Regions from separate parts of the Homo sapiens genome. Here regions 1, 2, 4 and 5 are each linked to region 3. Evidence: promoter capture Hi-C in 16 types of primary human blood cells and fetal thymus (Javierre and others, 2016). All regions are on one chromosome and are shown on one strand. Each heading gives the region's core, a stretch centred on a gene start or on the middle of the fragment in contact. The rest is flanking DNA. Distances are from core to core; before and after follow the strand shown.

Evidence for each region. Contacts are between HindIII fragments. The CHiCAGO score rates a contact against its expected background, and 5 or more counts as called.
Region 1: a contact is called between a fragment that was not itself captured here and the fragment with the promoter of MAGOHB in region 3, in 7 of 17 cell types (naive CD4 T cells, M0 macrophages, erythroblasts and 4 more). The highest score is 7.5, in naive CD4 T cells.
Region 2: a fragment that was not itself captured here is called in contact with the fragment with the promoter of MAGOHB in region 3 in 1 of 17 cell types (fetal thymus); the score reaches 12.3 in fetal thymus.
Region 4: a fragment that was not itself captured here is called in contact with the fragment with the promoter of MAGOHB in region 3 in 4 of 17 cell types (naive CD4 T cells, non-activated CD4 T cells, total CD4 T cells and 1 more); the score reaches 8.9 in naive CD4 T cells.
Region 5: a fragment that was not itself captured here is called in contact with the fragment with the promoter of MAGOHB in region 3 in 1 of 17 cell types (total B cells); the score reaches 6.6 in total B cells.

Annotation. Positions count from the first base shown.
Region 1 is chr12:11,171,142-11,176,578 of GRCh38, reverse strand. SMIM10L1 (small integral membrane protein 10 like 1) reads right to left here and starts at 5,385. Exons shown (of 1, transcript NM_001271592.2): 1 at 563-5,385. The coding sequence starts at 5,222. The coding sequence ends at 5,016. It overlaps PRH1-TAS2R14 (PRH1-TAS2R14 readthrough), which reads left to right and starts at 4,968. Exons shown (of 5, transcript NM_001316893.2): 1 at 4,968-5,157. It overlaps PRH1-PRR4 (PRH1-PRR4 readthrough), which reads left to right and starts at 4,954. Exons shown (of 10, transcript NR_037918.2): 1 at 4,954-5,157. It also overlaps a transcript of PRH1 not described here. The HindIII fragment of the contact is 3,407 bases long and covers 1-3,233 here.
Region 2 is chr12:9,750,095-9,755,378 of GRCh38, reverse strand. CD69 (CD69 molecule) reads left to right here. Exons shown (of 5, transcript NM_001781.2): 3 at 118-317; 4 at 689-792; 5 at 1,790-2,893. The coding sequence ends at 1,898. Among named protein-coding and RNA genes, the nearest start is that of CD69, 8.2 kb to the left of the region's middle. RefSeq lists a silencer at 3,832-3,911 and an enhancer at 4,372-4,666. The HindIII fragment of the contact is 472 bases long and covers 3,562-4,033 here.
Region 3 is chr12:10,611,792-10,617,180 of GRCh38, reverse strand. It overlaps MAGOHB (mago homolog B, exon junction complex subunit), which reads left to right and starts at 3,572. Exons shown (of 5, transcript NM_018048.5): 1 at 3,572-3,742. The coding sequence starts at 3,649. RefSeq lists enhancers at 2,758-3,635, 3,452-3,851, 3,636-4,515. The HindIII fragment of the contact is 2,009 bases long and covers 3,238-5,246 here.
Region 4 is chr12:11,540,823-11,545,994 of GRCh38, reverse strand. LOC124902877 (a long non-coding RNA gene) reads left to right here. Exons shown (of 3, transcript XR_007063210.1): 3 at 4,469-4,601. Among named protein-coding and RNA genes, the nearest start is that of LINC01252, 4.6 kb to the left of the region's middle. RefSeq lists an enhancer at 1,430-1,489. The HindIII fragment of the contact is 1,479 bases long and covers 1,158-2,636 here.
Region 5 is chr12:11,493,405-11,498,523 of GRCh38, reverse strand. No RefSeq gene overlaps it. Among named protein-coding and RNA genes, the nearest start is that of LINC01252, 52 kb to the left of the region's middle. The HindIII fragment of the contact is 956 bases long and covers 1,987-2,942 here.

The DNA.
Region 1 (5,437 bases), core at 281-2,780, 560 kb before region 3:
GCATGATCACAGCTGTTTTCTTTTTTTTTTTAATCTGCTGAACATAATCTCTAATTCTCTGCCAATGATCTTAGTTACAGTATTTCATTATTTGGTGGTGTGATTTTTTTCTCCCTCTTTTTGGCTGATGAAAAGTTGTACCCAACTTCCCTCACTAATAATATGAATGATCTCCATTTCTCTTTATTGTTCATTGATGCATGCCACTATTTTACAGTGGCTAAGTCCATATGCTTGGTGTTGAAAGCCATGGAGATGGTGAAGATTTTGTAATGTTCATTGCAGATCCCTAATCAGGATAGAAACTGGCAGGGATGTCCTGCAATTAAGCTACTAAGACTTCCATAGTTTCTTCATTTGTAGTAGGCTTTTGGGAAGGTCCTTGGGCCTTTTAGTTGTCCCAAGAGCACTGCTGAAATTTGTATTTGTGGAGAGTAGGGGTAAGGGGAGGTTTACTTATATTTTGAAAAGATCTCATGACTTGACCTGGTGGTAATCCTGCTGAGCAAATCCTATTAAGTCTAGTTTGTTCAGGCTGCTATAAAAAATACCATAAAATGGGTGCTTATGAACAACAGAAATTTATTTCTTATAGTTCTAGAAGCTGGGAAGTCCAAGATCCAGGCATTCACAAATTTGGTATCTGGTGAGGGTTCATTTCCTTGTTCATAGATGACTTTTCCCTATAACCTTACATGGCAAAAGGGGTAAGGGAATTATTTTGGGGTCTCCTTTATAAAGGCACTAATCCCATTCACGAGGGTTTCATCTTTATGACCTGATCACCTCCCAAAGGTCCCATCTCCTGAGATCATCACTTTGGGGGTTAAATGCCAACATGTGAATTTTTGGGGGGCACATTCAGACCATAGTACAAGTGTTAAAACTGCAAGAAGAATCCCCACACTCAAGGTAACCCAAGTAATAGACTAATATGAATCAATCCAACCCAATTGTTGGGAATTCTCATAGTTCTTGCAGAGGTTCTTTTCTTGGTTCATTTTCTTGGAACTTCCCAAGTCGTCTTTAGACTACTTTCCATGCTCAAACTTCCAAGTATTAGGATATTCCTTTCCCTCATCTTTTGTCCCTATATTCCTCAACTTTCATCCTACCCCTTTATGCTTCTGCATGTAACTTTATTTTCTTCTTGACGCTATCAAAAGCTATTGATGTCCTGCCAGAAAGATCTCCCATTAAAAGCAAACTGCAAGATTTTCTAACAAAATTTAGTTAGGGATCCTCAGGACAGGAACAGACATGGCTTCAAAATTTAACATTGTCTGATCTCTACTCTGGGTAGCACAGGAAAGTGTTTCCCTTCCATTCTGAGGACAACGTTCTTTCCTCTCTCTCCCTTTGCTCCCATATCCCTCAATCCCACCAACCCTCTAATAAAATAAGCCAATAGGTTTAAGGCTGCAGAGAGTATAAAATACTTGAACTTACATATCAAATCATGTTAAATATTTATATTTTAGTATGAAAGACCCTCAATAGTTATGTTAAAAAAAATAACTATTACCCAGGTAATATTTCTGTCCAGAAATTTGAGAAACAGAATTATTTGTAATTATCTACACATTTAAGAAAATTGAACTCCTTATGAAATATAACTTTAGGAATTACTGGAGATTCATTTGAGGTCTGGTTGGTTATCATGACCTTAGGAATTTACTTAACCTCTCTAAATCCCGGTTTGCTTCTCTGAAAAATGATAAAAATGTTTTCCTCACAGGGTATATGTGAGAATTACGGAGCTCATGTATATAAATAGTTTTTCATAGTTCCTGGTATTAAAAACTCAATATATTTTAAAAATGATGCTGATGGTAATGATATGCTATTTGTCAAGTAATCACATGTATTTTTACCCAGAATTAAAAAAAAAAAAACAACTTTTCCCCTATCCCTTAGGTTACATATGTTGCTATGTTCACTGTTTTCCTTTTATAGTTAAAATAAGCTGTAACGCATCGTTTCCCATTTTTTTTTTTGCCAGCTACATTTCTTATCTCTATTGATAATAACTATACCACCTATGTCTCTGCTTTTTCATGCTTGAGGGATCTCTGGATCAATCAACGTGCATGATGGCCTGAAAAAGCCCAATTTATGGGCAATAAAGTGAATCATCTTATTATCAGGAACGAATATATGTTTCCTTTATTGACTGCTGACTATGTAGAGCATACCAACAAAATTGCCATTCATCTATCCATTCAACAATATTTATTAGCTATTCCGCACTGGGCAGTGCTCTAGGCTTGGGGATAGAACAGTGAACAAACAAAATCCTTAGCCTAATGGATATTACCTGGAAGTGTGCCAGGAAGAATAAACTCACTTGTGAATTACAACAATAAGTGGTTTATTCAGGTCAAAATCTTGTTTTGTCTCCTGGGAATTTCACTGAATTGCATCATGTAGGAGGCAAACTATACCCCAAGAATTAAGAGCAATTGTGAATAAATGATAAACCACAGAGTTTACATTTACCTCCTAATACATTTAACTCCTAATATATATATATACATATATTACGAGGTAAATGTAAGCTGTAACTTTATGCATATATTGTAAGTAGTAACTATACATATATACTTATATACTGTATACATATATAGTAAGTAGTAACTATACATATATACATATATAGTTACTACTTAAATTTATATATGTGTATGTATATATATATGTATATATACAGTACACACACATACTGTTACTACCGGGTGTAAAATTGAATAGGATATAGTGTCTTCCCTCACAGAGCTGCCAATTATGTTGGAGGATGTAATAAATACAAAGTCTGTTTCTTCATCTTCGGTTTAACAAATGACTGATGTGAGGAAAAAAGTTATAGGAATATGTTCACATAGTCACCCAAATGGAGCATCCTACTCTGTCACCATTTCAGGATTAAGACTAGACAGTCTTTTGTGTTACAAATTGGGACATCAGTGCTCTGGGAAACAGTGATGTCCACGATTCTAAATCCCTTGGTATTACTATTTCATTGATTAAACTACACTTCTGATATTTTAGACTAAAATGTTTTGGCTTATCGCAGTCTAGGAAACCTGTCTTGGGTATATAAAACAGACAGTTGATGCACGATTAGGGAAAAATAAGGCAACCTATGAAAATGGCCTTATGGATTAAAAGAAGTGAGCTCCTATATGGTCAGTGGAATCCAGGAAAAATTTAATGGAAAAAGCGCCACCTAAGCTTAGCTTTAAAACACAGAGTATCTTCAGGTAGAAAAGGCTATAGGAGAATGTGCCCAAATGGAGTTTGGCTGGAGACAAAGAATAAAGACTAGAAAGAACAATTACCCTAGGCCAGACATGGTGTTGGACGGGGCAAGATGCTTACTACTTAAAGCCATAGAACACTGTTTGCTGGACACAATGAGTGGAATATAGAACAATGCAACTATTTTAACACTTTACCCCTCTTAGTGGTTTATTAGTTAATTTTTTCCTGAAAAAAAAAATGCGTATACTACTTTTTCTGCACTTTTCTATATCAGATCTTGATTTAAAACTTTACCACTCTTGGTGATTTATTATTAGTTTTTTTAATCCGAAGAAAACATGTGTATACTCCTTTTTCTGCATTTTTCTATATCAGATCTTGATTGGCTCACCACCATTACACACACACACATCTCTTTTCTCCCATCCTCCCAGCGTTATAGAATCATTTGTTGTAAAATCAGTATTCAGTATTTACATAATTATGACTGACTTTACATGACTACTATTATTCACAGTTGAGGTATACCGTGTATACAGTGTAGTTTTTAAATTTTTATTTTTCTCAGCGTTCAAAATTATATGTTCTGTTTTCTTAATTTTGAAAAATATGCATTCACTAATTTATCCCCACACTCTTTGGAAAATGAAAGCTCTCTAGGCTGTATTCAAATACACCAGGTACTCTATCAATTTTCATTTTTTAAACTATTCTACCTGAGCTCTCCATCTTTAGCCATTTCCTGTTGACTTCATACTGTTCTCCCCTACCACTCTCCCTCTTTAATATATTACCGTTTTAGAAACTTTATGGCTACCCTGTAAGTAATAAAAATGTCTTTCCCCACTCAACAACAGACAGTACCTTTCAAGTTTCCACTTTATAAGGACATAACCCCCATTCCATTTACTTCCCCCGCCCTCCTTCAACATTCCCACTTGTATTTTCCGGCTGTATTTTTAAAACATGGTAAATAACATTTGCACTCCACTTTGTAACCATAATTAAGTATGCCCTTAAACAATAAAAACCATAAACAACATTTGTATTTTACGATTATTTAAATGTTATTCACTGAACAGCCAAGCTTTGTGCTACTATGGGATTTCGTTTTCTGCGGTTCCAAGTCTTGATCCACGTCCTGCCACAGGATCACTGAAGTAGAGCCCATTTTCTTACACTCTCGCCATTAGTTCAAAAGCTTGCAGCATTTTATGTCTGGTACTTGGAGGATGATTTTCCTGTACAGTTTTGCGTTTTTTTCACCGAAAATTTCTGATTATTATTGTTTTCTCTTGTGGGATGAAATATGTACCTTCTATATCACAGCCTTAATACCTTCAGCTTCTTATTCATTGAAATCTTGCTTACAATCCAGTCCGAGGATTCCCGGTTTACTGATTTTCTTTTTCCTGCAAATTTTAGCCTTCTGTTTTGTTTTGAAATAATGCATCCTCTGCGCTTTGTCACATTCTGAAATTCGTCAGGTGTTTTAGGATGCACACTTTCTTAGATGTTTTCGAGGGTCTTAACTGCAGTTCTGTTTCCGGAACAGCGTATTCTCTTTCTAGGGATTGTAGGCTCCCGGCCGCCCCCTGAGGAGCTCCGCTAGCAGCTAAGAGGGCAGCCACGAAGAGCGCCTGAGCACTCTCGCGAGACTGTGGGGCTCGCCATTGGCTGCTCCGCCGCGCCGCAACGGACCCTGGGAGTCGGCCATCATGCTGGCCCCGGAGGCCGTTAGCTTAGTCATGGCTCTAAATATGTACCTGCAATCGGATGTTGAGGATCACCGAGCCCGCGACGTAGAAGTACGGGAAGTTCATGCGCAGCTGCCAGGCCAGCTCGAAGAAGGCGAGCAGGGTGCGGGAGAGCCCCTTGCAGAAGACGCCGTACGAGGTGGGTGTCGCGGCGGGGCTTGAGGCCCTGACGGCCAAGGAGGACGGAGCCGCCGCGGGGGCCATGAGCCAGGTGTCGCCGCCCGCCCAGCGTCTGTAGCGAGGGTTGCCGCAGGGCCCGCGGACCTCCTAGCGACGGCTGGGACCGGCAGGACGGTAAGCAAAGCGGCTCCCGGGCTCACACCCAAGCTTGCCGCTGCCGCCGCTCGGTGCAGTGCGGCGCGTAGCCCCGGGCGCCGCTGGCGCTCCGCCCCTTCCTGTCTGCTTCTCACTGTGGCATT
Region 2 (5,284 bases), core at 2,548-5,047, 860 kb after region 3:
GCTTTTATCCTTTACTTTATCACCACCTAGCACAACATAGCATCCTAAGGCTAGTTTTGCATGCTGTGGGTATTTGGTTTCTTTTGTTACTAAAACAAAGCATTTTTCTGTTCACAGTGGGCCAATACAATTGTCCAGGCCAATACACATTCTCAATGCCATCAGACAGCCATGTTTCTTCATGCTCTGAGGACTGGGTTGGCTACCAGAGGAAATGCTACTTTATTTCTACTGTGAAGAGGAGCTGGACTTCAGCCCAAAATGCTTGTTCTGAACATGGTGCTACTCTTGCTGTCATTGATTCTGAAAAGGACATGGTAAGAATAAAAAAAAGATAAAATACTACTATTTTAATTCATATGGCTAATCAGTGCTTTCCTTCCGTTTCTAAGTGGAGAAAACAAACAAACAAACAAACATTGTACCTATTTCAGATGTAGGAAAATGTCATCCCAGAGAACCATATGATCAGCCTGAGGTCAAAATGAGATTTAATTTAATCTTTTAAATTTGATTTGATTGCTTAGCTTCAAAGACCAGAAATCCAAATATGCTGATCCTATATAGAATGAGTACATGGTCAGATAAGCTGTCATGCCTCAAGTTGCAGCTTTTGAGAAACAGGATTTACTATCTACTTCCCCAGAAGGGTGTTTAATGTAACAAACTCCTTTGTGCTTTCTTTAAGAACTTTCTAAAACGATACGCAGGTAGAGAGGAACACTGGGTTGGACTGAAAAAGGAACCTGGTCACCCATGGAAGTGGTCAAATGGCAAAGAATTTAACAACTGGTAAGTCTCCAGAAGTCTCTTTATATTCCCCAGGGTGGCATCTCAGGAAAATCACTTTCCTTTTCTCCTTTCAAAGCACTTTAAATATAAAGGCTGAGCTCTTCAAGAGCTCTAACAATCTCTTCTGAATGCGTATACTCTGGAATTCTTTAATAACAGGCTTTATTATTATTCTTTTTCTTTATCCACACTTATAATACATAAAATAAATGCTTATAGTAATTTTTCTCAGCAAACTCTAATGTGAGTAGTAGATCTGGTTAATTTGGAAATATTTCAATAATAATTATGATGATGCAACAAAAACCCATTTTCAATGTCACATTTAGTCTTTACTAATAAGACAGTTGCTGGAAAATAAATCCTTCTTACTATTTCTCAGTTTTCATCTCCACAGAATAAAGAATAGTTTCAATGCCTAATTATGAGTTTCTATACACCTGAAAGAAAATTTGCCCCAGAATTAGATACTCTATTTTCATTACCTTTAGTTAAAATACATTTAATGTTTGAAGATCATTTTATAAGTTTGCTGTTGATCATAATACTGATAAAGTATCGAGATTAAAATTCAGGTTTCTAGAAAAGGGATTCCTAATATTTGTCCTATGGCTCCATATCCACAGATGGGCTTCAGGAGCCATAAACCCCTTAAAGCTGTATGCACTAGTATGCATGGCTGTTGAATGCATACAATTTTGTGAAATTATTTATTGAAAAATCTATGAACTCAGAAATGACCAAGAATCACTTATCTGGTGCCATGCCAACCAAATGAATGGCGTGCTTTCCTCTTACTTCCATATTTTTTCTCCACATCCTATTTTTTTTTCAATTCTTGTCCATTGTCTCTACAGATTAGTCTATGATTATTTGACTTGTGTATCCCACTAAGAATTTAAAAGAAGCAGAGGTCACCATCTCCGAGTTCATTCTCATGTAACTGAATGAAAACAATGAGCTGAAAATAATTCTAAGTTTTTTTATTGTTTGACAGGTTCAACGTTACAGGGTCTGACAAGTGTGTTTTTCTGAAAAACACAGAGGTCAGCAGCATGGAATGTGAGAAGAATTTATACTGGATATGTAACAAACCTTACAAATAATAAGGAAACATGTTCACTTATTGACTATTATAGAATGGAACTCAAGGAAATCTGTGTCAGTGGATGCTGCTCTGTGGTCCGAAGTCTTCCATAGAGACTTTGTGAAAAAAAATTTTATAGTGTCTTGGGAATTTTCTTCCAAACAGAACTATGGAAAAAAAGGAAGAAATTCCAGGAAAATCTGCACTGTGGGCTTTTATTGCCATGAGCTAGAAGCATCACAGGTTGACCAATAACCATGCCCAAGAATGAGAAGAATGACTATGCAACCTTTGGATGCACTTTATATTATTTTGAATCCAGAAATAATGAAATAACTAGGCGTGGACTTACTATTTATTGCTGAATGACTACCAACAGTGAGAGCCCTTCATGCATTTGCACTATTGGAAGGAGTTAGATGTTGGTACTAGATACTGAATGTAAACAAAGGAATTATGGCTGGTAACATAGGTTTTTAGTCTAATTGAATCCCTTAAACTCAGGGAGCATTTATAAATGGACAAATGCTTATGAAACTAAGATTTGTAATATTTCTCTCTTTTTAGAGAAATTTGCCAATTTACTTTGTTATTTTTCCCCAAAAAGAATGGGATGATCATGTATTTATTTTTTTACTTCCTCAGCTGTAGACAGGTCCTTTTCGATGGTACATATTTCTTTGCCTTTATAATCTTTTATACAGTGTCTTACAGAGAAAAGACATAAGCAAAGACTATGAGGAATATTTGCAAGACATAGAATAGTGTTGGAAAATGTGCAATATGTGATGTGGCAAATCTCTATTAGGAAATATTCTGTAATCTTCAGACCTAGAATAATACTAGTCTTATAATAGGTTTGTGACTTTCCTAAATCAATTCTATTACGTGCAATACTTCAATACTTCATTTAAAATATTTTTATGTGCAATAAAATGTATTTGTTTGTATTTTGTGTTCAGTACAATTATAAGCTGTTTTTATATATGTGAAATAAAAGTAGAATAAACACAATGGTTTCCAAGAAAGTTCATTCCTTCAAAATACATTAAAAAGTATATACTATATGAGAAAGCAGAAAACAGTTACTATAACTTAGGAAAAAATCCCATGTAGAGTAAAACCCTTAGTTTTATAATAGCTTATACATATCAAATTGTTTTCATATGCTTATATGCTAAAGGGTGTATGTATCCATATCCATTTTTCTGTATATAGCAGATGCTCTGTAATAATTACTCCTCATAGTCAATGCTCTGAAAGTATCTTGTTCAATTCTGAGGTGCTACATACACTTTAGTTATTTATGTAAAATAATTCAATATATAGAAAAGAGGCATAATCTTCATGGGATATTTCAATCAGCAAAAAACTCAATGATGTAGTTTGGATGTGTGTCCCTGCCCAAATCTCATGTCGCATTGTAATCCCCTTTGTTGGAGGTGGGGCCTGGTGGGAGGTGATTACATCATGGGAGCGAATCTCTCATGAATGGTTTAGCATCATCCTCTTGATGGTCTCCTTGCACCTGAGTGAGTTCTCAGGAGATCTGGTCTTTTCAAAGTGTGCAGCACTTTCTCTCTCTCTCTCTCTCTTTCTCTCTCTCTTTCCTGCTTTCTCCATGTGACATGCCTGCTCCCACTCCACTTCACCTTCCAACATACATAAAAGCTCCCTAAGCTTCCGCGGAAGCTGAGCAGTGTCAGCATTATGCTTGTAAAAACTGCAGAACCGTAAGCCAATTAAGCCTTTTTTCTTTATAAATTACCCAGTCTCAGATATTTTTATAGCAATGCAAGAATAGCCTAATACATTTGATTACCTTCAAAATTGTTTTATAAATGTAATTTGCAATATTCTTCTCTGCTTGTTGGAAATGTATGATGTGTATGGTATCTCTAAACTATTGGCAAACGGCAAACAGAAATGTGGATTTCAGACACTGCTTAGTGAAAAATAATGACCTCTGTGCTCCTGAGTTCCCACAGCTGTGGGAAAAAAGAAACAAGCAGCCTCCTAGCGGTAATATTCTATCATTACCAACAATCTACTCCCGAGTCATCTTAGAAAACAATGTCTTGCGATTAATATTTTAGTTATAACATATTTTTATGTGCATAAATCTAATCAAATTATGAAAATTGAGAGCAAGCTTAAAAATATTTCTATATTAGTATGACACAATTTTTAAGTCATTGAATACTGACTGTATCACCTAACAATTCAATGAATTTTATCATTTTTACAAATAATTTTATTGAATCCCTATAATTATGTGAAATGAGCAGCTGATGTATTTCCCTTTCCAGAGGAAGAAGTTGAAATTATGTTGAAAAAGCGACGCAAAACACGGATAACAGAGTTATTTTTTACACATAATTTGAAGTCATTTTATTCATAAGGACAACTGTTTTCTTTAAATAGATAAAAAATATACAATTCTTAAAGGGAATAATGTTATTATTTAAAGTATGACTCTACTTGCAAGTGACCAATGACAAATATAAAAAATGGGTTTGTCTCAAGAACCCCTCCTGCCCCCGGCTAAGTCCCCTGTTACAAAAGTTGCAGTGCCATCTAGTGGTTATACGAGATTACTGCACTTCTGTTTTAAGGATCCTACAAAACATCTATGTGGAGCGTGGAGCTGCTGAGACCCAAAGCACGGGGGCCAGACCGCCCGAGTTTCATCTCTGCCACGCGCGGGCTGACTAGCTATTTTATCAGAACTCGTTCAAAATTCAGCTAAAATTAGTTAGATGTTAAATTAGTTAGTACATGAAAACAAACTTAAAACATTATCTGGCTCCCTAGTACACCATAGGCATGTATTAAATACTCATGATGATTATTAGAACTAGAAACACTATGTCTTCAAACTTCCAGTATTGGCATAAAGCCGCGTTTCTACACGACATGTCTATTTCTACGTAATATATCTTATTTGTATTTGTTTTTGGAAAGCCTTTTAAAAATTTCATTTCACAAGTTATAAGTAAGCACCTACTACTATGGTGGACACCAGAGTTAAAATACTCAGCAAATTCCGCATGGCAACTGGCCTTGTGGAATTCGTGGTCTATTTGTAAAACAAACAACAAGATGAATTGACATGGTGTGATGAATGTTATAATAGGAAAAACGTAGGGTGCTATGGAAGCATATTAAAGATATACTCCTGTATTCAAACCTTTAGCTAATTATCAAAATTTTAACTCTGTAGGCTACATTCATCTTGGATAGTTACATAAATATGTGTAAAATAAAACTATCAGTTATCCGTGTTTTGCGTTGCTTTTTCAACATAATTTCAATTTCTTCCTCTGGAAAGGGGAATACATCAGCTGCACATTTCACATAATTGTAGGGATTGGATAAAACTTTTTAAAAAGGCTAAAATGCCAT
Region 3 (5,389 bases), core at 2,323-4,822:
TTTAGATTGAACAATCGAATTAAATATATCATGTCATGGTAATCTAGAAGTAGCTCCAAGTTCTCGCCATATATGAACATATGTGATAACGAATGGTGTGGAAAGTTTGGTGTTTCTGCATGATCATGATTCTCTTACTTAAAAAGTTAATACCACTAAGTGGTAAAAAGACAGATAAGGCTAACGTCCACAGGGAAGTCTATTATGGAAAAGAGAAGAGCAAGGTGGGTGGATGAATTAAAAATTAAAATACTACCTCATTCTGAGTATTTTTTAAAATTTAAACCACATTATGCACTTATTCTTGACTTACTACTCTGATCCATTTATTAATAACTGAATGAGATAGCCCTGACATCTTTTCTTCTGTAAATACAAAATCAAATGAATCAGACGTTATTCATAAATTAAAAACATGAGACTATAATACCTAGTGCTTATCACAATAAACATGGAACATGTTTCTGAAAATTGGAAGTCAGAATGATTTGATCATTAAGCCCTAATTTCAGATGGAAATAAAACGTTTATTTCTTACCTACTTCACTTTGTGCTTTGAAATTTACCGCTGTGTTAGCAAAGGTGGAAACAGTATTTTGGCTTCACTTAAGCAGCTCAAATATTTATTTTCATAAGTAAACTGTGTTGATATCAGTAAGTACGTCCTAATTTGGAGCCTACAACAAGCAATTTGAAAATGTTCACAATTTTTTTTTTGCTATTTCTAGCCCAACTAAAAGTGTATGAAAAGATTCTAACTGTGCTGACCAACACAGTAGCTTCTAGCCACATGTGTTTATTTAAATGTTAATCTAAATTAATCACAATTAAGAATTCAGTTCGAAGTCACAGTAGTCACATTTCAAGGGCTCAGCAGCCATACAGAAGAACATTTCCACATCACTGTTGTGTACCATCCAAGAATACAACACAACGCAAATGCTTTATCACTTTGTAATTCTTGCTTCAATACAAAAGGTTCAAATTTTGGCTTAAAATATAGAGAGTTAAGTAAATATAGTTTCATATTTTATCTTACAAACAGGTAGGATTATAGTCTTGAACCCCTATGTCATTTTTGGAGATCAAGACAGTAACTGGCCCACTTAACAAAGATGTTAATACTTTGTGCATTCTGTAACCTCTATTTATATAGTTACACATTCTGGTATCCATAGTTCTATTTAGGTAAACATGAAGATGAACATTGGCACATGTGCCAAAAACCTGAAGGAGAGACATTAGGGAATCTAAGATATTGAATGAGGCTTTCCATATAATTCAACAAAATGGATTACAGCTGATATTTCCAGAGATACTACGGAATAGAGTGTTCAAATTTCTGTGAATTATTCTTGTGGTAAGTGTGGTGACCAACCCATCTCAGTTTGCCTGGGTGTTTCCAGGTATGGAAAGTCCCATTTCCCAGGAAACTCCACAGTCCTGGTCAAACTGGAACGGCTAGTCACCCTAGTGGTAAAACATGGTGCTTCCTGTTTCTTACGTACTTTCCAAAATGGTGGCCCATTGTAGGGACTGATTCATTTTTCTATATTAATAGTTATATAACTACTAATATGGACTCAAGGAAACGTGGCCCAATTTGCCTTTTTAGTCATTCTACTTGAACCTTATGCTCTAGCTATACCGAATTTCTTAGTGTTCCCCAAACATGAATTTTCACACCACTGTCTTTGCTCGGGTCATTTTCTGCCTGGAATGCTTTTTCATCCCACTGAACATACACAGAACTTACTTCTCAAGGTCCAATTCAAACACTTCCGTTGACAAGCCTTTTCCAATACTCTTTTTTCAAATTTCCCTACTCTGCAATAGAATGCTCTTGCTTCCTCTGCTGTACTACCGGCATGTTTTACACACTTTTTTTTTTTTAGACGAAGTTTCGCTCTTGTCACCCAGGCTGGAGTGCAACTGCGCGATCTCCGCCTCTCGGGTTCAAGCGATTCTCCTGCCTCAGCCTCCTGAGTAGCTAGGATTACAGGCACGTGCCACCAAACCTGGCTAATTTTTGTATTTTTAGTAAAGACAAGGTTTTGCCATGTTGGCCAGGCTGGTCTTGAACTCCTGACCTCGGGTGATTTGCCCCCTTTGGCCTCCCAAAGTGCTGGGATTACAGGCATGAGCCACTGCGCCCGGCCACATATAGGCTTTCTTTTCTTTTTCTTTTTTTTTTTTTTTTTTTTTTGAGACAGAGTTTCGCTCTTGTTGCCCAGGCTGGAATGCAGTGGCACGATCTCAGCTCACTGAAACCTCTGCCTCCAGGGTTCAAGCAATTCTCCTGCCTCAGCCTCCCGCGTATCTGGTATTACAGGCACGCGCCACCACGCCCAGCTAATTTTTTTGTATTTTTAATAGAGACGGGGTTTCACCATGCTGGCCAGGATGGCACATATATTCTTAATTATAGCAATTGCTCCCTTGTGCTGGTATTCGCCTTACGTGTTTGCTTTCTTTTCTAGACTACCAGATCAAATGGCTTATTTCTAGTTTCAAACTGTCACATAGGAAATGTTTGTTAAAACTAATGTTTTATAAAATTTAAAGCTTATTTTACATATTATCTCATTAGATCTCTCAAGAATTCTGTGAGCTTGGCAATGTAGATTGCTGTATATGCATTAGGCTGATGAACAAACAGGCTTAGAGATAGTCACTTGCCCGAGGTTAGTTAGCTGTTAAGTGTTGGGATTGAATCCCAGGTCTTCTCTCCACCACTTTCTACTAAAAATCACTGAAGGTTGTCAACCGACAGATAGGATTACTCTGTGTGTTGATAACAAAAGGGTGATCAATAATATCTGAAAAGGAAACTTTGTGTAAAAGTCTTTCCCTTACCTTAAAAACTACGCCACACTGGAGCATTCTTTCATTCCCCCAATTTAATTCTATCTGGCGAGAAACAATAATGGGCTAAACCATTATTGTATCGTAAGTCAAATTGCCAAAACTTCACAGGCTACTAAAAGTTAACCCTTATTGAATGAATTAAGAACCTTAGAAGTTCTGCTGTTAAAAAAAGCACGGTGACTGTCAGGGTTTTTCAGGTGTGGGGGGTGTGAGGGTTTTAAGAGTTGGATTCCTTTGACTTTGTCTCTATTATTATAGGCTTAGAGGTCCCGGGTAACTACCAATCGCTATCCAAAGGGAAAGCACCCTGTTAGAAATTAAGTAAGAAAAATAGTTTATATTCCCGGTCTGCCATTTCGATTCTAAGCTTTATCTTTATTTAGCTCACAGTTAAAGGGGGCATAGAGCCACACCCACCTCACAAACGCCGCAAGGATTGGGAGACCAGAAAAGTAAAAGTGACTTGCAAACCTTTAGCTCTAAGTCCATAAAAAAGACTATCATATGCTCACATTTCTAATCTTTGCTAGTATAATGTAATCTTTATTTTGAAAACAATGTGCCTCCATTCCTAGTAAAGCGAAAGTCACGGCGCTGCGACCCTCCCTTCAGCGCCTCCGGACTCTCACGCGATACTCGGCTTTCACGCTTTAGTCTAGGGCTGCACTGCAGGAGGAAGAGAAGCGCCTGTGGTGACGCACTTATTCCGCGCGATGACGTCACTGCAAGGCGCCGGGGGACACGTTGGCTGCGTTTTCGGCGGGCTTCCCGGGTACAAAAATGGCTGTGGCTAGCGATTTCTACCTGCGCTACTACGTAGGGCACAAGGGCAAGTTTGGGCACGAGTTTCTGGAGTTCGAATTTCGGCCGGACGGTGAGAAGAGGCCCACGGCACGCGGTGCTGGGAAAGGGGAGCGAGACCGAGAGGCCGGGTGGTGTGGAGGGTACAGGCGGCGGAGGCCACTGCTTCCCTCGAAGGAAATAGGAGCTTAAGAATAGAGGAGGCATAAGTTGGTTTTATAAATGAAAGAGAATTAATTGCAATAAATTAAAGCTAATCCTGTCACAAACTGAAAAGTTGAACCTACAGTAATCAGAATTCTGTAACAGTGCACCAGAAGGGACTCTAGATCGTCGCCCTGATTGAAAATGCTAGCACTTTTTTGAAAACACCCCCACCAGCGGGTGGTCCAGTGGATGAATAAAATCTTGTGGTGACCAGTACCTTTTTTTCATTTAGGCTGTGTGTTTTCTTTGAAGGGGAGGAGCCCAACGTGTTAACAAATGAGAATAATAATATGTTTTAGGTGTTTACGTGTAATTGTTCACCATAGGACGCATGAAGAGTACCAAGCAAGAGGGGAGAGGTAAAGTTCCACAGGAGGGAGTCAGGAAGATCTTCTTAGAGGACGGCACTCTTGAGATGAGTCTCGAAATGAGAGACTTGGCCTTTGAGAGAAAAAAACAGACTTCCAGAGCAGTATGAGCAGAGGATGAGGTGAAACTGCTACCCAAGTAGTGTGCAACAGTGTGTTTTCTGACAGCGCTATCCTTAGAGAATGTTACATTGATCTTGCCTACCTGCAACAAGAAAGTTCATTTGGATATATATTTTTTGGGTTTTTTTGAATGCACGTTTTGTGCTGGACAACAAGCAAATACAAAATTTTAAGGTACAGTAATGAGTAAGACAAATTTAACTAAAGCAGATTTGTCTTGGTGGGAGGCACAGACATTTAACTATAAAGCAGTATGCATATTAAGTCCTATAAGCAGGCTTTGGACAATGTTCTGTGAGAGCAAGAATAAAAAATTAGAGAAGGAACGTATATTAGGAAAGGAGAAGAGTATCAAGCATTTCAGGCAGAACTCACGTTAACTACAGTCCTGCAATTATTATTATTATTATTATTTTGAAACAAGGTCTCACTCTGTCACCCAGATCTGAGTGCAGTGGCACGATCTCAGCTCACTGCAACCTCCCCCTCCCTAGTGCAAGTGATCCCTCACCTCAGCCTGCCGAGGTGCTGGGAATACAGGCCCACGCCACCTCACCCAGCTAATTATGTTATGTTATGTTATGTTATGTTATGTTATGTTATGTTATGTTATGTTATGTTATTTTTTGTAGAGATGGGTTTCCCCATGTTGCCCAGGCTGGCTTCAAACCCCTGAGGTCAAGGGATCCACCAGCGTCAGCCACCCACAGTCCTGGGATTACAAGCATGAGCCACCGGGCCAGCCCTGCAATTATTTAGAAACCTTAATCACTGTATTTAACCTTACCGTCCCCATAAATTCAGCTAAATTTACCTGAATTCATCTATTCTTTATGTAGTATTATTTTCAGTTCCTCTGCCTGCGAACACCATCAAGCTTGTCCCTATCACTTTTAGCAGGTCACATGAATTAAGTACCTGAATATTATCAGGGAAGTTTTATGCTAGAACAGTGGTTCTAATCAATGTATCTGCCACTACACTGTTACACATACTTCCATTGGTGATATTGAGCCTCCCGA
Region 4 (5,172 bases), core at 648-3,147, 930 kb before region 3:
ACCTGGCAGCTCAGGGGCCAACTGTTCTCTGTTGCTTTCTACTATCATGAACACAGGAAATGGGGGTGGGTAGCTTCTGGTTTCTGATTGAGGGAGTAGAAAGTGATGCTGCAGGGATCAAAAGCAGAGAAGCTTTTAAGCCATTTGAGAAACTGTGTCCGAAGGCAAGCGGATTTTAGCAGTAGCAGCAGCAGACCCCAGAAAAATTTGAAGAAGCATTAGTTTGTGCACTGTTAATGCCACTCTCTCATGAATGAAGAGAAGAAGGCAGGCCTAATGAAGGCTTTCCTAATGAAGGCTGAAGGCAGGCCGCTATTTGCCAAAGGTGCTGAGTGGCAGGGGGAGGAAGGGAAGGAAGCTGTGCAGTGTGTACTGCTTGCTTATCAGGAATCACGTCATTTCCTGTGTAAAGGGGCTGTGTGGTCTCCAGGGGCACTGGGAAGCCTTGGATGGCATGATTTCACCTTCTTCTTGCTCATCATTGAGGAGCTCTCATTAGTTAATGCTAGCCCTATTCATTTCATCATACATCTATTGTGTTCATACTGTGTTCTGAGCTCCGTGTTTAATCTTCGCAGGCTCATGAAGAGGAGTTAAGGATACTTTTGTCTTGAAAATGCTAACAGTCCCTCATGTGCTTGGGACCAGGGCTGCTGGAAAACCCACTAAGCAGCACACGGGAAACTAGAAAAGCAGAGGAACAAAGTTTTGGGGTTTTTGGGAGAGGGGGTGAAGAATGACATATTTTATTCCAAAAGCATAAAATATTTAATAGTGGAAACTATGAATGATACTGTTTAATTTTTAGGAGGCCAAAATATTTTAAGATTTATAAGTTTTAAGCTGGCCTTGGAGTGAGGGCAGAAAATATGTACACAAACAACTCTAATACAAGACTGAATGTGATGTATACCATAACAGAGCACCAAAGTAATAATGAATTGGGAGACAGAAGAACCACAATGTCTTTATAAAGTGGTATTTGAAGTGGACTTTGATGAACAGATAGGCAGGGTTGGAGTGCATGATCACTAAATCCATTCAAACCTTCTAACATTGACTTTTTATGGTGTGGGGGTGGGTGGGATGGGCACGGATTCTCCATGCAAAGGGACTATCTCGGGAACAGACAGTCACGGGGGCGGGGGGACTAAGCTTTCCAGTGTGCCTGGAGAAAAAGGCACATGTGAGGTCATGGATCTCAGGGCCCAGGCTAGTCTAGTTTGGCTGTAGCAGGAAGTGTTCCTCACTCTGCTCAGACCCAGGTACTGCTTCAAACCAGAAAGTCTGGAGAGTGGGCTCCTTCCTCCCCTAATGGGGCAATTTGCCCAAGGACAAAGTCCAGGCTTGCTCCTCCGTATCAGACCCTGCTCTGGGTAGAGGGAAACCACCACATGCTTTCTTGTTTGATGTGCTGAGTGCTCAACTGAGCTGTCTGTGCCCCTACACTGCTTCTGTATACTTAGAGTCAACCTTTAGAGGATGATATTTCAACATTCTGCATGGAGTTTTCTCTGTAAAGTACAATGAGTTTGTGACTGACCAGAACTACAGACATTCCCTTTTGTTTGTGAGCTGCATGACCAATGTGTTTGGCCTCATTAAAAATGAACTGGGCAAGCTGGGCATGGTAGCAACTCAGGAGGCTGAGGTGGGAGTCTCACTGAGCTCAGGAGTTCGAGTCCAGCCTGGGCAACATAGCGAGACCCTGTCTCTAAAAAATATAATAATATAAAATTTTGAAATAAGAATGAACTGGTCAAATAGGAAAGTTTTCAAGGACATCAACTGGTCTTTTCTTGCACAGAGGAGATTCGCAGGATGAAAATACTCTGAGGCTTCTTCCCACTGCAGGGCACAGACCCGAGTTAAGTGTGGCCTGGCCCTCAGCACTTCCCAGGTGCCCTTGGTGCATCCTGGTGCTGACCTGTGCCCCTCCACACTCCTGCTGTGCAGCTCCTGCTACCCTACAGGAACCTGCTCCTGAATAATCCCTGTGTCTCCTCTCTGTGCTCTTATGAGTCACCGAAACTCGCTTGTGAATTTTATTCACAGGGTTTTGACGGCTTCTTTCTATCCAAATTTATTTCCTCCTTGACCTCATTCCTTCTGTCTTGTTGCCATCACCAGTGAAAGCTAATATTATTTACATAGGGAAATGCATAGTGGATGGAAGGATACAGTTCTAGGAGTCACATGACCAGCCAAAAAAAGTTCTGCGTAGACACACACACACACACACACACACACACGTATAAACATATCATAACAAACTTAGCAGCTTGAAGATGAAGATTAATAGTGTTACTGTTTAAGGATCTCAAAGATAAAACATTTGCAAATTTAAAGCACACTTACACATGTATTCCTCTTGAGGACTTGGAAACACAGTTTTGCAGAATAACTCTGGCTGCCAGCTAGCACGGGAAGAGAAGTGTTAAGTGTTGAAAACTGTTAACTGTTCATGGACCAGTATAAATTGAGTCATAGGGGTGAGGTGTTTTTATGTTTGCTATATTTCCTATTTCCACTACTTTCCTGAATAAGTACATTTACTCTGGGTTAATTTTTGAAATAATTTTGAAATTATTCAAAACATTGTTGTGTGTATATGCAAAGACTAGGGAAAAGAAGCTTGGATTGGTAGCAAAAAGCCAACTGTGACTTTGAGCAAATTATTTGACCTCTCTCAATATATCTTTTCTTATTTTAAAATAAGGAGGTTGAACTATATCATTTCTATGCTTTCTTTCATTGTTAGCAATCCACGAATAATGGAACACTGCACAGAATAGTAAACACTGGGTTAAGATCCAGTATTGGCTCGAATCCTTATAACTGTGTGATCTGAATACAGTAATTTCTTCTCCCTGGGCCTTACTTTCTTCATCTGAAAAATTACAGGATTGGCCTCTATCTTCCTTATTGTCTCTTCAGACTCTCATGTTTTGTAGTTTTCCTCAGTTATGGTAGAAATCTCATCCTTCTCTTCTTAACATTTAGTCCTGTGCTCCAGGGAAAGAGGAGGGAGTTGGGAGAGGCCTGATATAATCATTAATTTTCTCCGTCTTTCTCTTTGTTTTGTTTTAACTCTCTTTCTCCTTCCCCCTCCCCACCTTCTCCTCCATTTTTTTTTTTCTAGAACACTGAGAAAGTTTCCTCATAGTCTACTTGGCAGTTGCAGCTGTCCCTAGAATGAGTCCTGAAACCTAGATCTGAGTTGCGGTAGAAAGCCTATTACTTCCTTGCTTGTTTGAAGACAGCCTACTGTAAGCCCTATGGCTTGGAGGTGACCAGGCTCTCCAGGAGATCAACACTTCGAGCCCTGTATGTTTAAGGAATAGTTTTGACTTAGAGTGATAGAGAACACCTAAAGAGACCATGGCTTTTAAAAATAGAAGTTTCTGAGTGTGGTGGTTAATGCCTGTAATCTGGGTACTTTAGGAAGCTGAGACAGGCAGATTGCTCGAGCCCAGGAGTTCAAGACCAGCCTCAACAACATAGTGAGACCCCATCTCTACAAAAAATACACAAATTAGCTGGGCATGGTAGTGCACACCTGCAATCCCAGCTACTCAGGAGGCTAAGGTGGGAGGATCACATGATCCTGGGAGGTTGAGGCCACAGTGAGCTGAGATTGTGCCACTACACTCCAACCTCAGTGAGAGAGTGAGAGCTTATCTGAAAGAAAGAAAGAAAGAAAGAAAGAAAGAAAGAAAGAAAGAAAGAAAGAAAGAAAGAAAGAAAAGAAGGAAGGGAGGGAGGGAGAGAGGGAGGGAAGGGGCTAAAAACAGTTAAGTATTATAAAGCGAGCATCAGTCCAGAAATCCAGCAATAGTCCCTCCTGGAATCCACTGACTTTTCTCAACAGTTTTTGGCCCTTCTCTTTTAGGGTTGCCAGATAAAAATACAGGATGCCCAGTTAATGTGACTTGCAGAAAATAATAATAATTTATTATTATATAATACATAATTTTTTAGCATAAACATGTCCTTTGCCATGCTTAGTTTGGGACATACTTACACTAAAAAATTATTTGTTCTTTATCTGAAATTCAGAATTAGGCATTTTATATTTTAAATTCAGAACTAGGCATTTTATATTTTTATTTGCTAAATCTGGCTACCCTATTCTCTTCTTAATATTCTTCATCTCTCCCAGCTTTGCCCTCCTTCCCTGCCCCCTCTTCTAGGGGAGTCAGATCGAGTTGTAAGGAGAACATGCCCACTGTCTCGATGGCTGCAGCGTGCAATCCATACAGACGGTGAGGAAGAAATGGGTTTCCACCCATGCTGTAGACGAATGTTTGTGTCCTCCCCAAATTCCTTTGTCGAAGCTTAACAACCAATGTGTTTGGTATTTGGAGATGGGCCTTTGGTAGGTAATTAGGGTTACATGAAGTCATGGGGTGGGGCCCTCATGATGGATCTGGTAAGAAAAGAGAACACTGTCTCTCTCTTCCACCAGGTGAGGATGCAAAGAGAAAGTGGCTGCCTGCAAACCAGGAGGAGAGCCCTCACCAGGAACCAATCTAGCTGACACTTTGAACTTGGACTTCAAACCTCCAGTATTGTAAGAAATAAATATGTTTTCAAAGTCATTTAGTCTATATTATTTTGTTTTGAATAATACAACCTGAAAATACATTTTCCCCTCACCCTACCTGAGCAATATCTAAGTTGCTTAAGGCACCCAGGGCACATCAAAGGAGAAATGTCCCATGCACAAGGCACAGCCATGCCCAGGAGAAGCAGCCCGGCACAGAAGGGAGCACACAGGCTCGGGGCTCTGCCACTCATTCTTCCTGTGACCCTGGGCAAGACACTGAGGGGGGCTTCAGCTGATTTGTTTGTAGTGGGCTTAATAGTGCTTGCCTTGCCTCCTCTGGAAGGCTGCAGAGACCGGATGTTAAAGCGCTTTGTTATCTGTAGGGTTTATTTGAACGAGAAAGGAAATGTGCATATGCTCCAGGATGTCTGTGTATCCAAAGACACACGCACACACTCTCTCTCTCACACACACTCTCACACTCACTCACTCACACACACTCACACACACATTCAACACATGCACACACTCACACACTCACACACACTCACACATGCTCACACGCTCACACTCACACTCACACTCACACACTCATTCAACACTCACACATGCACACACACTCC
Region 5 (5,119 bases), core at 1,215-3,714, 880 kb before region 3:
ATCCTCCACCATCCGAGGAACCCAACCATCTGAGACCACCACACCCCTTTCAAGAATGTTCCTCCCCTCCCTTTGTTTGTATTTATACCAGTGCAAATTTGCTGGCCATCTTAACTTAGTCTTCTGCCTCAGTTCTCCCATCTGTAAGATCAGGAGGCGGATAAAGATGTAAGATACTTTCTTTGCATATCTTAAGATGAATTCCGTGTTAGTTACCACATCTGAGGGAGTCCGTGTGTGTTTACTGTACTATCCATGTGAGGGGATTGTACAGACACAAATCGAAACAAGGAAGTAGCAAGTCCATTCAAGCATTAAGAGACTGATTAGTGGTTTATTCATTCTGTCTGCAAACATCTACTGATCCTGTCTTCAGTGCAGACCATGATCACTACAGAAATGAATGAGACCCTGCACTGGCCAGGAAAATAGCCTCAAAAACAATGGAACTCTAATCCAGCCATGAGTAAAATAAGGAGGGACAAATCCCTTCTAGGGTTAGGGAAGTCAGGAAAAGTCTCTTAGCAGAATGTGTGCCTCTCTACCAGGCCCAGGGAGCTGGTACAAAGACAGCATTCCAGGTGGGGAGCAGTGGCTTACACCTATAATCCCAGAACTTTGGAAGGCTGAGGTGGGAGGATTTCTTGGCCCCAGGAGTTCAAGAACATCCTGGTCAACATAGGAACTGGAGTCACGCAGTCACATACTTCACGCTGGGGCCCACCATGTGAGGCACAGAGTGGGCTTCCAGGAAGGAGACTAAGCCTCATTTCGGGTTGCTTATGGCCAAAGACAGGACCTGTGTACTCTGTCCTCTGTCCCTCACTGCCTTCCCCCTGGGCTCAGGGCCAGGCTGACAGCCAGTCTTGGCTCCTCTGGGCAGCCCTTGCTCTGTGTGTGCCCCGGGGCAGAGGCCATAGTCCAGGCCCAGAGGCCATAGCTGCCCTCCAGCCCTACACCCTGACCCACTTTCCTGCGTCTCTCAGTACACCCGACCTTGTCTTTACCTGTGCGGGAAGCTCCTCTATGGTCCACTTAGTTCCCACCCACCTTTAAAAAATAAATAGAGGCCAGGCACAGTGACTCACGCCTGTAATCCCAGCACTTTGGGAGGTCGAGGTGGGCGGATCACAAGGTCGAGAGATCAAGACCATCCTGGCTAATATGGTGAAACCCTGTCTCTACTAAAAATACAAAAAATTAGCTGGGCGTGGTAGCATGCACATGTATTCCCAGCTACTCGGGAGGCTGAGGCAGAATTGCTTGAAAGCTGGGAGGTGGAGGTTGCAGAGAGCCGAGATTGCACCACTGCACTCCAGCCTGGGTGACAGAGCAACGCTCCATCTTAAAAAAAAAAAGAAAAAAAAATTAAATAGAGAAGTCAGTCATGATGACGTGGGAGGATCACCAGAGGCCAGGAGTTCATGACCAGCCTGGGCAAAATAATGAGACCCCTGTCTCTTAAAAGGTTTTATTAAAAAAAATTAAATAGAGAAGCTAGACATGAAAGGACAGATATTGTGTGAGTCCACTTATGTGAGGTGCCTAGAACAGTCCAGTTCATAGCAGCAGAAGCAGTGGCCGCCAGGGATGGGGAAACAAGGTGGGAGTTGGGCAGCTTGTGTTTCATGGGTAGAGTTTCAGGTTGGGATGATGGCAAAGTCCTGGAAATGGCTGGTGGTGACGGCTGCACAGCAGTGTAAATGTGCGAATGCCACTGAGCTGTATGCTTAAAAATGGTTTTGATGGTAAATTTTAGGTTAGGTCTATTTTACCACAATAAAAAGCTAGGAAAAGCTGGTAGAAAGAAAGAAAAGAAAGGAAAAGAAGACAAAGAAGAAAAGAAAGAAAGAGAGAGGGAAAGAAAGAAAGAGAGAGGGAAAGAAAGAAGGAAAAGAAAGAAAGAAAGAAAAAGAAAAGAGAGAAAGGATGAAAAAATATTAATTTCTTTCTCAGGCAATAGTCCAGATTTTGTATTATGAAGCTTGTGTATCAGCTCTGCCCTATGAAGTCCTTGGGATACCAGGCTCCTTCCTCCTTTCTGCCCCACCATTCCTTGGATGTAGCCCTTGACCTTTTAATCGAGGTTGGAGGATGAGGAGAGAAAAGGAAGCAATGGCCTAGAAACTGCCATTGAGCACATGCCTACATCCCATTGGCCAGATGTCAGTCACATGACCACACCCACCTGCAAGAGATGCTGGGAATTGAAGTCTCATTTGTGGGTAGTCATGTATTTAGGCAAAATTTGAGGACTCCATCACCTTGGAAGAAGGAGAGAATAGATAGTGGGGACAACTTAGCCATCTCTGCTGTCATCCCCATTTGATCTCTCAATGGTCAGAAACCACAGAGGAGAAGGAGTGACTCCCAGAACATCCAACATTCAGCCTCCCCTTATTACTCTTCATTCTTTTTCATCCTTAAAGAATCCTTCTGGCCACTCCCACTAGGCATTGTCATCTCCCAAGAATTACAAACTATCCATGGATTCCTTCATCTTACAAACCTACCTGCTTCGTGGTAGGCACTGTATTAGGTAAGGGGACTAGAAAGATAGAGGAGGTGCAGTCTTTTCCCTAAGGAGTCTTCAGTCTAGCAGGCAGGAGTAGAAATGTGGACCAACTGTCCTGAAGTGTGACAGTTGTATAGATAGACATTTGAACAACATATGGTGGGGTATTAAAAAAAAACAGTTAACACTAAACTCAAAAACAGATAAGGGAGGGATAAGAAAATGCATCATAAAGGAAGTCTGCCGTAAACTAAGTGTTTAAAGTTTGGTTCATTGGATGGAGGGGACAGGACAGAGTCTCTGTCTTTCTCCCTCCTTTTTTGCTCCTTCCCCCATGCCTAATATGCTTTGTATAAAACCACCTGTATGCAAAACAGATCAATCCAGCTACTATCCTATTAAAAATATAGTGCATTGGCTATAAGCTTAAGTTACTAACTTGCATATTCATTTACATGGCAATTCCTGTAACCTTGCCTCTTAAGAAAACTAGACGAAATAAAATTAATTACCAAAGGCAGCCAGCAGCAAAAATATCCAAACCTTAATTCTAGGTACAAGCTACAGAACATGGCACAAAGTGGACTGTGGTGGGGGTCTGTAGATAAGGTGAAGCAATAGTTTTACATCAAAAAATTATTGGGTTCTATACAAGTGCAATCATAAATGAGGCATTGGAATTTGGCTTCACATTGACTAAACTGTTGAGCCATGGTTCACTCATTAACATTCTGTGTTAATGATATTCTAGTTATCATTAAAAAAGTAAAGGTGAAACTGAGAAACTATAAGCAATAAAACTTGGTGTTTAGGAGAAAATAATTTATCATCCATAATATATAATTTTGAAAGATTAAAAACACATTCATCTCAATACAAAAATTCAATAATGCTTGAATTACTTCCAACGTGTTCATCCAAGGTGAACCTTCACATTTTTACAAACTCTTTTTCTTTATGAATTTTTGTTGACTAAGAACAAATTTTTTTCATTTTCTGAACTTCAAAATTATGCATTTTTCTATATGCTATACACATGAAACTTATGCTTCCTATGTATTAATTTTACAATTTTAAATTCCTTGGAAGATATCTTGTTTTTAAGTATTAAATTCAACTTTATTAGCATGTGTTCATTATCTAATAAAACAAAATGAACCATAGAAAGCAGGGATCCCCAGACTTTTTAAATAAAGAGTCAGGGAGCAGACATTTTAGACTTTGCTGACCACATACAGTCTATGTCACATATTTATCTTTGTTTTTTTTCTTTTAACAACCTTAAAAATGTAAAGACAATTCTTAGCTATGGGCCAAACAGGTCTTAATTTGACCCGTGGGCCTTACTTTGCAAACCTCTGAAAAGCCTTGATATCAGAAACCTATATGCCTATAAATAACTATAATACAAGGGAGATATATTAATGCTATGTACGAAATAATGAAATTGGTGGATATGTAGAATATGGTTCTTTTCCAGTGTTCCTTTGCTCAGCAACGGTATCATTATCCATAAAGCTATGAAGCTGGAAACCGTTGAGTCATCCTCAACATGACTCTCTCCCTTTCTCTCATGCATTATATTGAATCTATCATCAAGTTCCATCCATTTTACTTCCTAAACGTTTCTCAACTTGATTCACTTCTACCTCACTGCCACAGTCCTATAAAACTATCATTACCCTTTACTTGGAATGCAAGATTCCTAGATTCCTAACTGGTGTCTCTAATCTACCCTCATCTATTTTTCTTCTCTACCAAAAGTCTAGTTTTTCTTCTGATTTCTTTTATTTTTTCTCACTTTCTCTCCTTTCCCATCCCTTCCTGAACAATTCAATCCTAAACCATCTTTGGTATGGGAGGTGGTACAGAGCTAACATAGCCTGGTATGGGTGTCAGAACCTGCACTGGGTGAAGACAGTGTTAATGTGAGGAAGGAGTGTGTCCTGATGCGGAGTGTCAGAGCCCAAGCCAGTTAAGGAAGGCATCTTATGGGAGAGTGGCTTGCAATGGGAATCAGAGTCAGAGCAGGGAGGGAGTGGCAGGGAAGATGGGAGATAAGTTACATACACTGGGATTGATCAAATAGGTAAATATATTTAAGGTTATTGGAAGCCAGGTTTTTCACTATCTGAGAAGGAAATTGCAAGTATAGAAAGAGAAGAAACTGGAATGATCCCTGTGATCTGTGGTACTAGATTGGGATTGAAGGTATCAGTAGATTTATGGTTTTTAGTATGTAGGTAGACAGATACAGATAAAGGTGTAGATGTAAATGTAATTGGTGTGTGTATGTATGTTTGTACTGAAAAAAAAAAGGAGCCAAACAAATAAAATTATGGGAAAATGGCAAAAGGACATGAAACCAGCTCAAATGGCTTCCACTGATCAAATCTGCTTCATGGTGTAGCCCAGGGGTTTTTAAACATTCTGTATAATCATCAACTTAAAAATACAATGCCAGGAGTGTCCATAGTTTGTGGTAGCACGTAGACAGATATAGATATGGGTATAGAAGTAAATGTGATGGTATTTGATATTTTCCTCTTGTAGTTCTCATGGAATGTCTTGACTGGTGTAGAATAGAATTGAATCATTATCTTT